Regions from separate parts of the Homo sapiens genome. Here region 1 is linked to region 2. The links are contacts of gene promoters, found by promoter capture Hi-C in blood cells and fetal thymus (Javierre and others, 2016). All regions are on one chromosome and are shown on one strand. Each heading gives the region's core, a stretch centred on a gene start or on the middle of the fragment in contact. The rest is flanking DNA. Distances are from core to core; before and after follow the strand shown. Region 1 has its middle 140 kb from the start of MIR3194. Region 2 holds the start of DPM1 (dolichyl-phosphate mannosyltransferase subunit 1, catalytic).

The links. The method cuts DNA at HindIII sites, captures the fragments that hold promoters and counts their contacts. A CHiCAGO score of 5 or more calls a contact.
Region 1: a fragment that was not itself captured here is called in contact with the fragment with the promoter of DPM1 in region 2 in 1 of 17 cell types (endothelial precursors); the score reaches 5.5 in endothelial precursors.

Annotation. Positions count from the first base shown.
Region 1 is chr20:51,311,318-51,316,061 of GRCh38, reverse strand. No RefSeq gene overlaps it. Among named protein-coding and RNA genes, the nearest start is that of MIR3194, 140 kb to the left of the region's middle. RefSeq lists enhancers at 3,160-4,148, 4,149-4,744. The HindIII fragment of the contact is 1,712 bases long and covers 936-2,647 here.
Region 2 is chr20:50,955,378-50,959,781 of GRCh38, reverse strand. DPM1 (dolichyl-phosphate mannosyltransferase subunit 1, catalytic) reads left to right here and starts at 1,250. Exons shown (of 9, transcript NM_003859.3): 1 at 1,250-1,419. The coding sequence starts at 1,259. MOCS3 (molybdenum cofactor synthesis 3) reads right to left here and starts at 964. Exons shown (of 1, transcript NM_014484.5): 1 at 1-964. The coding sequence starts at 939. RefSeq lists enhancers at 181-791, 1,004-1,493. The HindIII fragment of the contact is 3,207 bases long and covers 1-1,409 here.

The sequences.
Region 1 (4,744 bases), core at 542-3,041, 360 kb before region 2:
ATTTTTTTTTTTTTGTATTTTTAGTAAAGACAGGGTTTTACCATGTTGGCCAGGCTGGTTTTGAACTCCTGACCTCAAGTGATCCACCTGCCTCGGCCTCCCAAAGTGCTAGGATTACAGGTGTGAGCCACCATGCCTGGCCCCTCTGAGGGATCCTTATGCAATCATGAACGGTCTAGAATGAGTGCTTTATTTACATTCTCATTTAGTGCTCACAATTATTAGTGTCCATATTTCACAGATAAGAAGACTGAGGCACAGCAAAGTTAGGTAACTCATCCACATACAGAGCAGAGCTGGCTGCAGAATCCCAGCCTTTCTGATTTTAAACTCTATGCTCTGAACCACTAAAATGCAGCCTTCTCATTTACCTCTTCATCCTCAGTAGGCCTAGGCTCATGGACAAACCTGTCTCACTTGCCTATTTATCCCCTCCCTGGCCATGGCAGACATCACTAATCAATCACAGCATTTTTTCCAATCAGCCAAATGCAGCCTCACAATTTATCTTGGTAAAAGCATCTGGGTAAGCTGCCAACATCAACAGGAGTTGGCATGCCTGATGAAACCTGTAGGCTGTGCTAGTAGTGGGTGCCCATAAATAATGCACTGAATTGAGACTATTGTGACTGATTTGAGAAGGTAAAACATGGCCACCATCTACTGATGTTATTCATTACCCTCTACTGAGACATTGCTATGGTCACTGCTTAATTCCTGTGGGAACAGTAGCCACTCCAGACCCATCACTCTCCATCCTACTGACTTCCATGCTGATAGTCATGTGCGGAGACAGAGCCATCTCCACTCAGGAAAGACCACTCCCAAAGCCCTTCCTACACATGTGTGAAGCATAAATGGCAGCCGGGGTCATGCCAATAGGTCATATACGCCAGTCGCAGAGATGGGAAGGTGTCACCACCCAAGGGGAAGCTTGCACTTGTTGGACATGAGCCCTTTTGGACAAGAAGCTGCAACAGAGTCAACACAGAAATCCTGGGCCAAATGCCCAGAGGGCTGCTGTATTGGAGAGTTATAGGAAGGTGGTTCTAGAACTATGGCCTCGAAGGCAGAGCCCAAGAAAAGCAGGGAACAGAGTCCTAGAACCTGGCTCCAGGCAGATGACATCCCTCCAGCTGGGCCCAAAAGCACCCCTGTCATCTGCTGCAGTGGCAAGTAAGCTGTTGCTGAAGTAAGCCATGGTGTTGATGGGGCTGTTGGCACAGATCTGACTATTCTTTAGGACTTTGAAGCCACTGCAATAGGCAGGATTCTAAAAATGGTGCCAAAAGATGTTCTCCCTTAACCCCAGAAGCTGCATCTGTGAGTCGGATGCAACAGTCCCACGATCGTGCTATGCGGCACAGCTGACCTTAAGACAGGGAGGGAAATTTTCTGGATGACCCTGATCTATCACACAGCCGTGAAAAGCAGAAAACTGTCTCTGGCTAATGGCGGAAGAGGAAGCCAGAGAGATCCAAAGCATGGATGGACTCGGTGCATATTTGCCGGCTGTGCAGCTACGCGAGGCCCCTGGGAGCAGAGTGTGGCCCCCGGCAGCCAACCAGCAAAGACACAGGGACCTCAGTCCTAAAACCACCAAGAACCGGACTCTGCCAACAACCCGTATGAACTTGGAAGTGAATTCTTCCCCTGAGTTTCCAGATGTGAGTGCAGCCCGGCCAATACATTCACATCAGCCTGGTGAGACCCTGCACAGAGAACCCAGCCAAGCCCACCTGGGAATGGGGACAGCCTGTGGGGCTGTACACATGATAATGTTAAATGAACCTGAAGGGTAAGCTATGGCTCCAGCGCGGGCCAAACTCACATTTGCAAAATTAGTAATCAAATGGGTGAGGACGCCAAGGCTGGAGCGTGCCCACATATGCCCCTGTTAGGGTCCTGGATTGCCCTTGAACACCAGCTCCTGAGCTCTTGGTGACCAATTCAGGCTGAAAGAGCCATCTCTTGCCCCCAGGCTCCCACATATGGCAGGCCACTCATAAGAGTGGATTGGGCAGGTGTTCTCTGCAGACAGAGCTCCGGAGAAGCTGCCCTTTAGAAGATACTTCTAATCCCTGATGGGCCGTTTGCATGTCCTGGATGGGATGTCAGCTCCTCCAAGAGGTTTCTCTCCCCTAGGTCCCCTCTAAAGGGCCTCCACCTTGGCGCTATTGACATTTTGGACCAGATAATTTTTTGCTAGAGGGCCTGTCCGGTGCATTGTAGATTGTTCAGCTGCATCCCTGGGCTCTACCCACTAGATGCCAGTAGCATCTCCTGAATTCTAACCATCAAACATATCTCCAGAGTTTGCCAAATGACTGCTGGGGGAAAAAAATTACCCCTGGTTGAGAACCAGTACTCCAGCACTTGCTTGTAGGCCCTGTCACTTTTCCTCCTGACAAGCTCAGAGAACGAACCTCCACCCTCATGCTGATGAATCATCGTATTTCAATCAATGCATCGCATCCATCAAAACCAGCAGGATGCTGTTTGCATACGTGTGTGTATGTGTGAGTGTGTGTTCCACTATTCCAGCCCATGTCAATTCCATCAGCAGGAAGGAAGTGCTGGGGGAAGGAACATGCTTCCTGGTCAGGCCATCCTGCAAATCCCTGATGCTGCTGACTTAGCAGAAGCTTCCCACACACTGGCTTCTCCAACACCATCACATACGGTTGTTCTCAGGCCTCTGCTCCTTGCAAAGGGCTAGAGCTCCCTTTCCTGGAGGGCCTGTGAACAGCCATCATTGAGCCATGAGGCTGGCATTATCCTCCCCATTAGAAAGATGAAGAAACTGAGGCTCGGAAAGGTAACGTGAAGAGCTTAAGACAGCAGATCTATCTTATTCTGAAGCCTGTTTTTACTATAGATTTCCCATCATAAAGCAACTGTCTAGATATGCGGCCAGGTCACTGTGAACAATAAACCTTTAGTGGTCTCACTTTGCAGCCAGGCCACTGCCGAGCATTTGTAGATTCATTGGATTTCATTATTGAGTATTTTAAGCCTACAATAAAGAGCAGAGGATAATGCAGGGTGAGTATCCTTTATCCAACATGATTGGGACCAGAAGTGTTTCAGATTTCAGAGTTTTTCAGATTTGGGGATACTTGTATTACACTGAGCAGCTGAGCATCCCAAATCTGAACACTTGAAATGTTCACTGTAGCACTTCCTTCGAGTACAGCATCAACACTCACACCATTTTGAGTTTTGGAGCATTTTGCGTTTCAGATTTCAGATTCGGGATGCTCAACCTGTGTACCAGAAAGGCTGACATCTACTACCCAGCTTGGTTCAAATTTGTTTTATGACTGAAGTTATTTAATACATGTCATAGAGACAGGAGACAGCCAAGGGTCCCCCCACAAAACTCCGCCTTCAAGCCTAAAATGGCCTGAAGGCTGAAAAACCCGGACTGCAGGTCCTGGAGAATCTCTGACCTGCCTGAGCACTGGGAGGATGGGGTGGAGTCTCAAGAAGTTTGTGCCGTTTGCAAGGGAAAGGAACCTGGCCTCTCCTGTTCCTGGATAGTAAACTGGGATTCAAACTATGAGGTGGGAAGCCTTCTAGCAGGACTCTCTCCTGCTTTACTGAGATTTATTTTTCCTTTTCGCCTAATAAATTCCATTTCCCCTCACCCTTCAAAGTGTCTGCAGGCCTAATCTTTCCTGGTCATGTGACAAGAACCCTTTTTTTTTTTTCCCCCTACAACACATGTATTAGGGCATTCTTGCATTGCTCTACAGAAATACCTGAGACTAGGTAATTTATAAGAAGAGAGAGAGGGAGAGGAGGTGCCACACACTTTTAAATGACCAGATCACGCATGTAAAGCAAAAATAAAATTCTAAGCCGCACAACCTGCTGATAAACCCTCCCCTTGGCCAAGAGCATTCTAAAATTAACTGGAAAGACGAGTTCGGGTTATCATGGGAAGTGAAAGTCAGACATGCCTCCTTATACCCTCCTCCCCCTCCCTTTGGAATTCAAGCACAGTTGACCAACATTAACATTAAAACAGAGATCTTAAGACAGATAGAACAGACTTGAAGTCTGATAAACATTTACAATCTATTCTCTGTGAAGCCTGCTTTGGGAGGCTTCATCTGCATGATAAAACCTGGGTCTCTACAACCTATTATCTTAACCATTCCGTCTGTGATTCCAGGTCTTTAAATAATAACTCTTTAAGCCAATTGCCAGTCAGAAAGTCTTCGACTCCGCCTATGACCTGGAACCCCGCCTCCTCCAGTTATCCAATTGTCCCGCCTTGCCAGACGAAACCAACATGTATCTTACATGCATTGATTGACATGTCTCCCAAAAATGTATAAAATCATTTTGTATCCTGACTACCTCGGGCACATATTCTCAGGATTTCCTGGGGCTGTGTCATAGGGCCACTGGTCCTTCATACTTGGCTCAGGATAAACTCTTCGGATATTTCGCAGAGTTTGACACTCTTCATTGACACTCACTATTGCAAAGACAGCACCAAGCTATTAGGAATCCACCTCCATGACCCAAATACTTCCCACCAGGCCCCACCTCCAGCATTAGGGATTACAATTTGACATGAGATTGGAGCAGGGACAAATATCCAAATTATATCAATAGATTTGTATTGAAAAGTCAGGCCACATGCAGTGGCTCATGCCTGTAACCCCAAAACTTTGGGAGACTGAGGCAAGATGATTGCTTGAGGCCAGAAGTTCAACACCAGCCTGGGCAA
Region 2 (4,404 bases), core at 1-2,500:
TTCATAGTCCAGCAGATCAGTCACAGTGGGCCGTTCCCCGCAAGCTGCACAGTCGAGCCTGCGGCTCCGCAGCCGAATAGAGCGGAAATGCCCTCTCAGGGCATCAAAGAGCAACAAGCTGCCACTGTAAGAGGGGCCCAGACCCGCAGCGATTTTCAGCACTTCCAAGGCCTGCAGGCAGCCCAGGACCCCGGTAACGACACCGAGCACCCCGCCGTCCGCGCAGTTGGTCACTGTCTCCGCTGGGGGTGGTTGGGGGAATATGCAGCGATAGCAAGGGCCACCGTCATAATGGTAGACTGTGATTTGGCCCTCGAAGCGCAAGGCACTGGCAGACACGAGGGGCCGACCCGCCAGCACACATGCGTCATTAACCAGGTAGCGAGTGGGCACGTTGTCCGAGCAGTCAGCCACCACATCATATCGGCGGACCAGGTCTAGGGCAGTGGCTGGCGTAAGGGCCTGAGTGTACGGCACGCATTCCACTGCCGAATTGAGGCGGCGCAGCGAGGCGGCGGCCGAAAAGGCCTTGGCCTGGCCAGCCAGTGCCTCGCCATGCAGCACTTGGCGGGCCAGGTTGCTCATCTCTACCACGTCATAGTCCACAAGGCCAAGGCGGCCCACGCCGGCCGCTGCCAAGTACTGCGCTAGTGGACAGCCGAGCCCACCGCAGCCCACGATTAGCACGCACGCGGTCCCCAGGCGCAGCTGTCCGTGCACGCCCAGCTCGGGCAGCACTAGCTGCCGGCTATAGCGCAGAATCTCATCTCGGGACAGAGCGGCCTTCGGCGGCAGCGGCGACACCGGAACCAGCCGTTCTGGCTGCGGTTCCTGCTCAGCCAAAAGAGCCGACGCCAGCTTCTGCTTCAGCGAATTCAATTCCTCCTCACGTTGGGCAACTTCAGCTTGTAAGGCGAGTACCTCCTCCCGGGAAGCCATGGCGACCTCTTCCGGAAGTTGTCGTGAAAGGCATTTCCGCTTCCGTCTTCTGTCTCCTAGCGACTGGGATAAACTAAAAAACTTTATGGAGCTTGGGAAAAGGTGATGAATAGATATTTACTTCCTGAAGAAACCTTCAGATTAAACTTCAAAGATGTATAAATCCAGAATATTTCTAATTGAACCACGCAATGGCCCTAGAAGAACTAGCGATCAATCACACAGGTCATCCCCCGCTTCCGAATTTGGTACGGTCCGACCCGTCCTTTTCCGCGCCACATTACGTAATTCCGCTTCCGGCATCTGGCTCAGTTCCGCCATGGCCTCCTTGGAAGTCAGTCGTAGTCCTCGCAGGTCTCGGCGGGAGCTGGAAGTGCGCAGTCCACGACAGAACAAATATTCGGTGCTTTTACCTACCTACAACGAGCGCGAGAACCTGCCGCTCATCGTGTGGCTGCTGGTGAAAAGCTTCTCCGAGAGGTAGCGCACCAGGTCTCCCTCCCCGAAGAATGAGATGAGCTGGCTTCCCCGGCCCGGGTGTCGGCAGCTGGCTGCGCGAAGCGGCCCTGTCCAGCCTTCTTTGCCTCACACAGGAAGGCCCGGGGAGAGGGCCACCCTGCGAGGGAAGCAGAGGCGGATGCTTGTTGGGTTTTCTTCGTGTCCTGGGTTCTCATTCCTGCCCTTGGGTTTTGTGAGACTCTCATTTATCTTTATTATGTAGTACTCCCGTCCCCCGCCTTTCCGTAGAAAGGTTGGCCACTCTTTTACTTGGAAGCGAGGCTGAAAGCGTGATCCCACTCCTCCCTCTAGGCGGTCAGGATCTGCGGCAAGAGCCGGGAGTCCAAGCGAGAGCTCTCACTCTCCGCTCCGGTGCCGAGTGCTTACATAAGCATGAGGTTTGGTGTGTGTGGGTTAGGGAGCTATTGCTGGGCACGATAACCTTTCTGGAAAGGAGAAAGCAGAAGAGCATCTTCGCTGATCACTGGTGGATGTTTGGTGTGATTGTTAGAACCGGGATGGGGGGTGGGTGGAGTTCGAATTTGGAAGTGTTAATGCAGTGTTTTTAAAAACTGCAAAAAATCCTGGAGTCAGTACGAAGTAACTTGTTTTACGATTGCACAAATGGGATCATGCTGTGAAATCTTTGAAGACTTTTTCTCATATTAACATGTACAAACATAGCAAATTACTTTGGAAGTTAGGTAACATTCCATATGGCTGTGTTATTTATTTAATCAGGTCATGGCAATGAACTGGATTATTTCCAGCGCCTTTTGGTTGTTTCTGTTTTTTGGCTTTTGCTTTGTCGATGAGAACAAGGACTTTGTTCACACCATATTTTCCAGCTAAATTTAGAAAAGTGCTTGACACATAGCGGTGCTCCTTTATTGCATCAGTGTTGGCAGCAGACGCGTTCATACTTTTACTTGTGTACTAGGGATAAATTCTTCGAGGTAGGATTGCTGGGTCGACAGAAATGTGCTTAAAATGGACAGTTACTGCCAAATTGCTCTAAAGAAAAAAAAGGTTGTACAAGTTTGGACTCTCCATTCTTCAGAGTGCCTGTTTCCCTATCAACCAGCCCGCCTGAGCATTAGACTTAACATTGTTGGAAGTACTCATTTGTGAAAACCATTGCTGTTTTGATTGTATTTCCTTGAATAACTGCCTTCATATGCCTTGCCCCTCAGAGTTTTAAAATTTTTATTTTTCCTGTTTAATCTTTTAATTTTGATTTCTATAAGCTCTAAATTAAAGAAAGTAACTATCATACAACCGATCTCGTTCAGGGCTTGTATTCTAATTTTGCAATTTTTTTTTTTGCTGTTTTAATTTTTTTATGTAGTACAATTTATGTTTCCTTTTAATGGTTTGTGAATCAATCTTTTAAGATCAAAATGAAGTTTGATAAAGGAAACAAAACTTTTCAGATGCAATCAAATTACTTGAAGTCAGCCCAGCTTGGTACCTTTGAGCTGCCTCACCCTCAGGTGGTGTAGCTGCTTTGAAGTGGTAGGGGACAGTAATTTGCTTTTAACGACCCCATTTTGTTTATGGAATTTCTCTTTCAGCACGTCTATTAAAATCACCTTACATATTTTGGCATGTAAAGGCACCAGTGCCCAGATTTAAGGCACAGTGGGAAGCCAAAGTCATTGTTCTACTCTTGGAGAATAGATAACACAGGGGTTTGCTTTCTTGTCTTCAAAGTTTGCTGGGGCTGACTTGTTAAAGCCTTTAACAGTGGAATATGTTTTCTGGTTGATTTTCTTGTATTTGTTTCTTTTTTCTTTTTCTTTTTTTTTTTTTTCTTTTGGAGACGGAGTCTTGCTCTGTTGCCCAGGCTGGAGTGCGGTGGCGCCATCTTGGCTCACTGCAGGCCCCGCCTCCCGGGTTCTTTTTAGTAGAGACGGGGTTTCACTGTGTTAGCCAGGATGGTCTCGATATCCTGACCTCGTGATCCGCCTGCCTCGGCCTCCCAAAGTGCTGGGATTACAGGTGTGAGCCACCGCGCCCAGCCTCTTGTATTTGTTTCTTAAAGCAGGACCAAGAGAAAACGGAATGTTATGTCGTAGGTATTATTTATCCACCAAGTATTGTGTTGGTTTGTTTTTAGACTAGAAACTACCACCTGAGATTAATGGGAAGTAACAGATGTTAATTCTGAAGCACAGTGGAATCTTTTGTAATGCTACTCTGCTTTTGTTTTTTTAATTTGATAATGTGAGGTAATAGGCACAACTATTTGAAATTGTGGTTTAAGATAATGTCACCATTCTAAAATCGGTTTTTTTAAAGATGAAATTAAATCAGATTTATACTTGATTATTCTATTTGGATCAGATTAACAAGAATAATCACTGAGTTACTCAGTTTGGTTTGAGTTACCATGTAAAGTACTTTTGAAATATTTTATGTAACTAAGATTTGCTATTAAGGTTCAGAATATTATTTCCAAATAGGTAATAAAATTTCATATGGCTGGGCACGGAGGCTCATGCCTGTAATCCCAGCATTTTGGGAGGCTGAGGCGGGCAGATCACGAGGTCAGGAGATTGAGACCAGGCTGGCTAACACGGTGAAACCCCGTCTCTACTAAAAATACAAAAAATTAGCCGGGCGTGGTGGTGGGCGCCTGTAGTCCCAGCTACTCCGGAGGCTGAGGCAGGAGAATTGCTTGAGGCCAGGAGGCAGAGGTAAGCCGAGACTGCGCCACTGCATTCCAGCCTGGCAACAGAGCAAGACTCCATCTCAAAACAAAAAAAATTCATATGATACATAGGTCATTACGTGATTTTCTTTTGAACTAAAAAGTTTGTTCTCTGTGTAGGAATTCTTTAATATCTCAGGACATTAGCATGTTTCAGCAACATACTGGGTTTGGAGGTAAAGTACTAAATGTTTGACATTTATTTCATTTGATAATTGAAGTTTTCCTCAACGATTAATATAGCAATACATCTC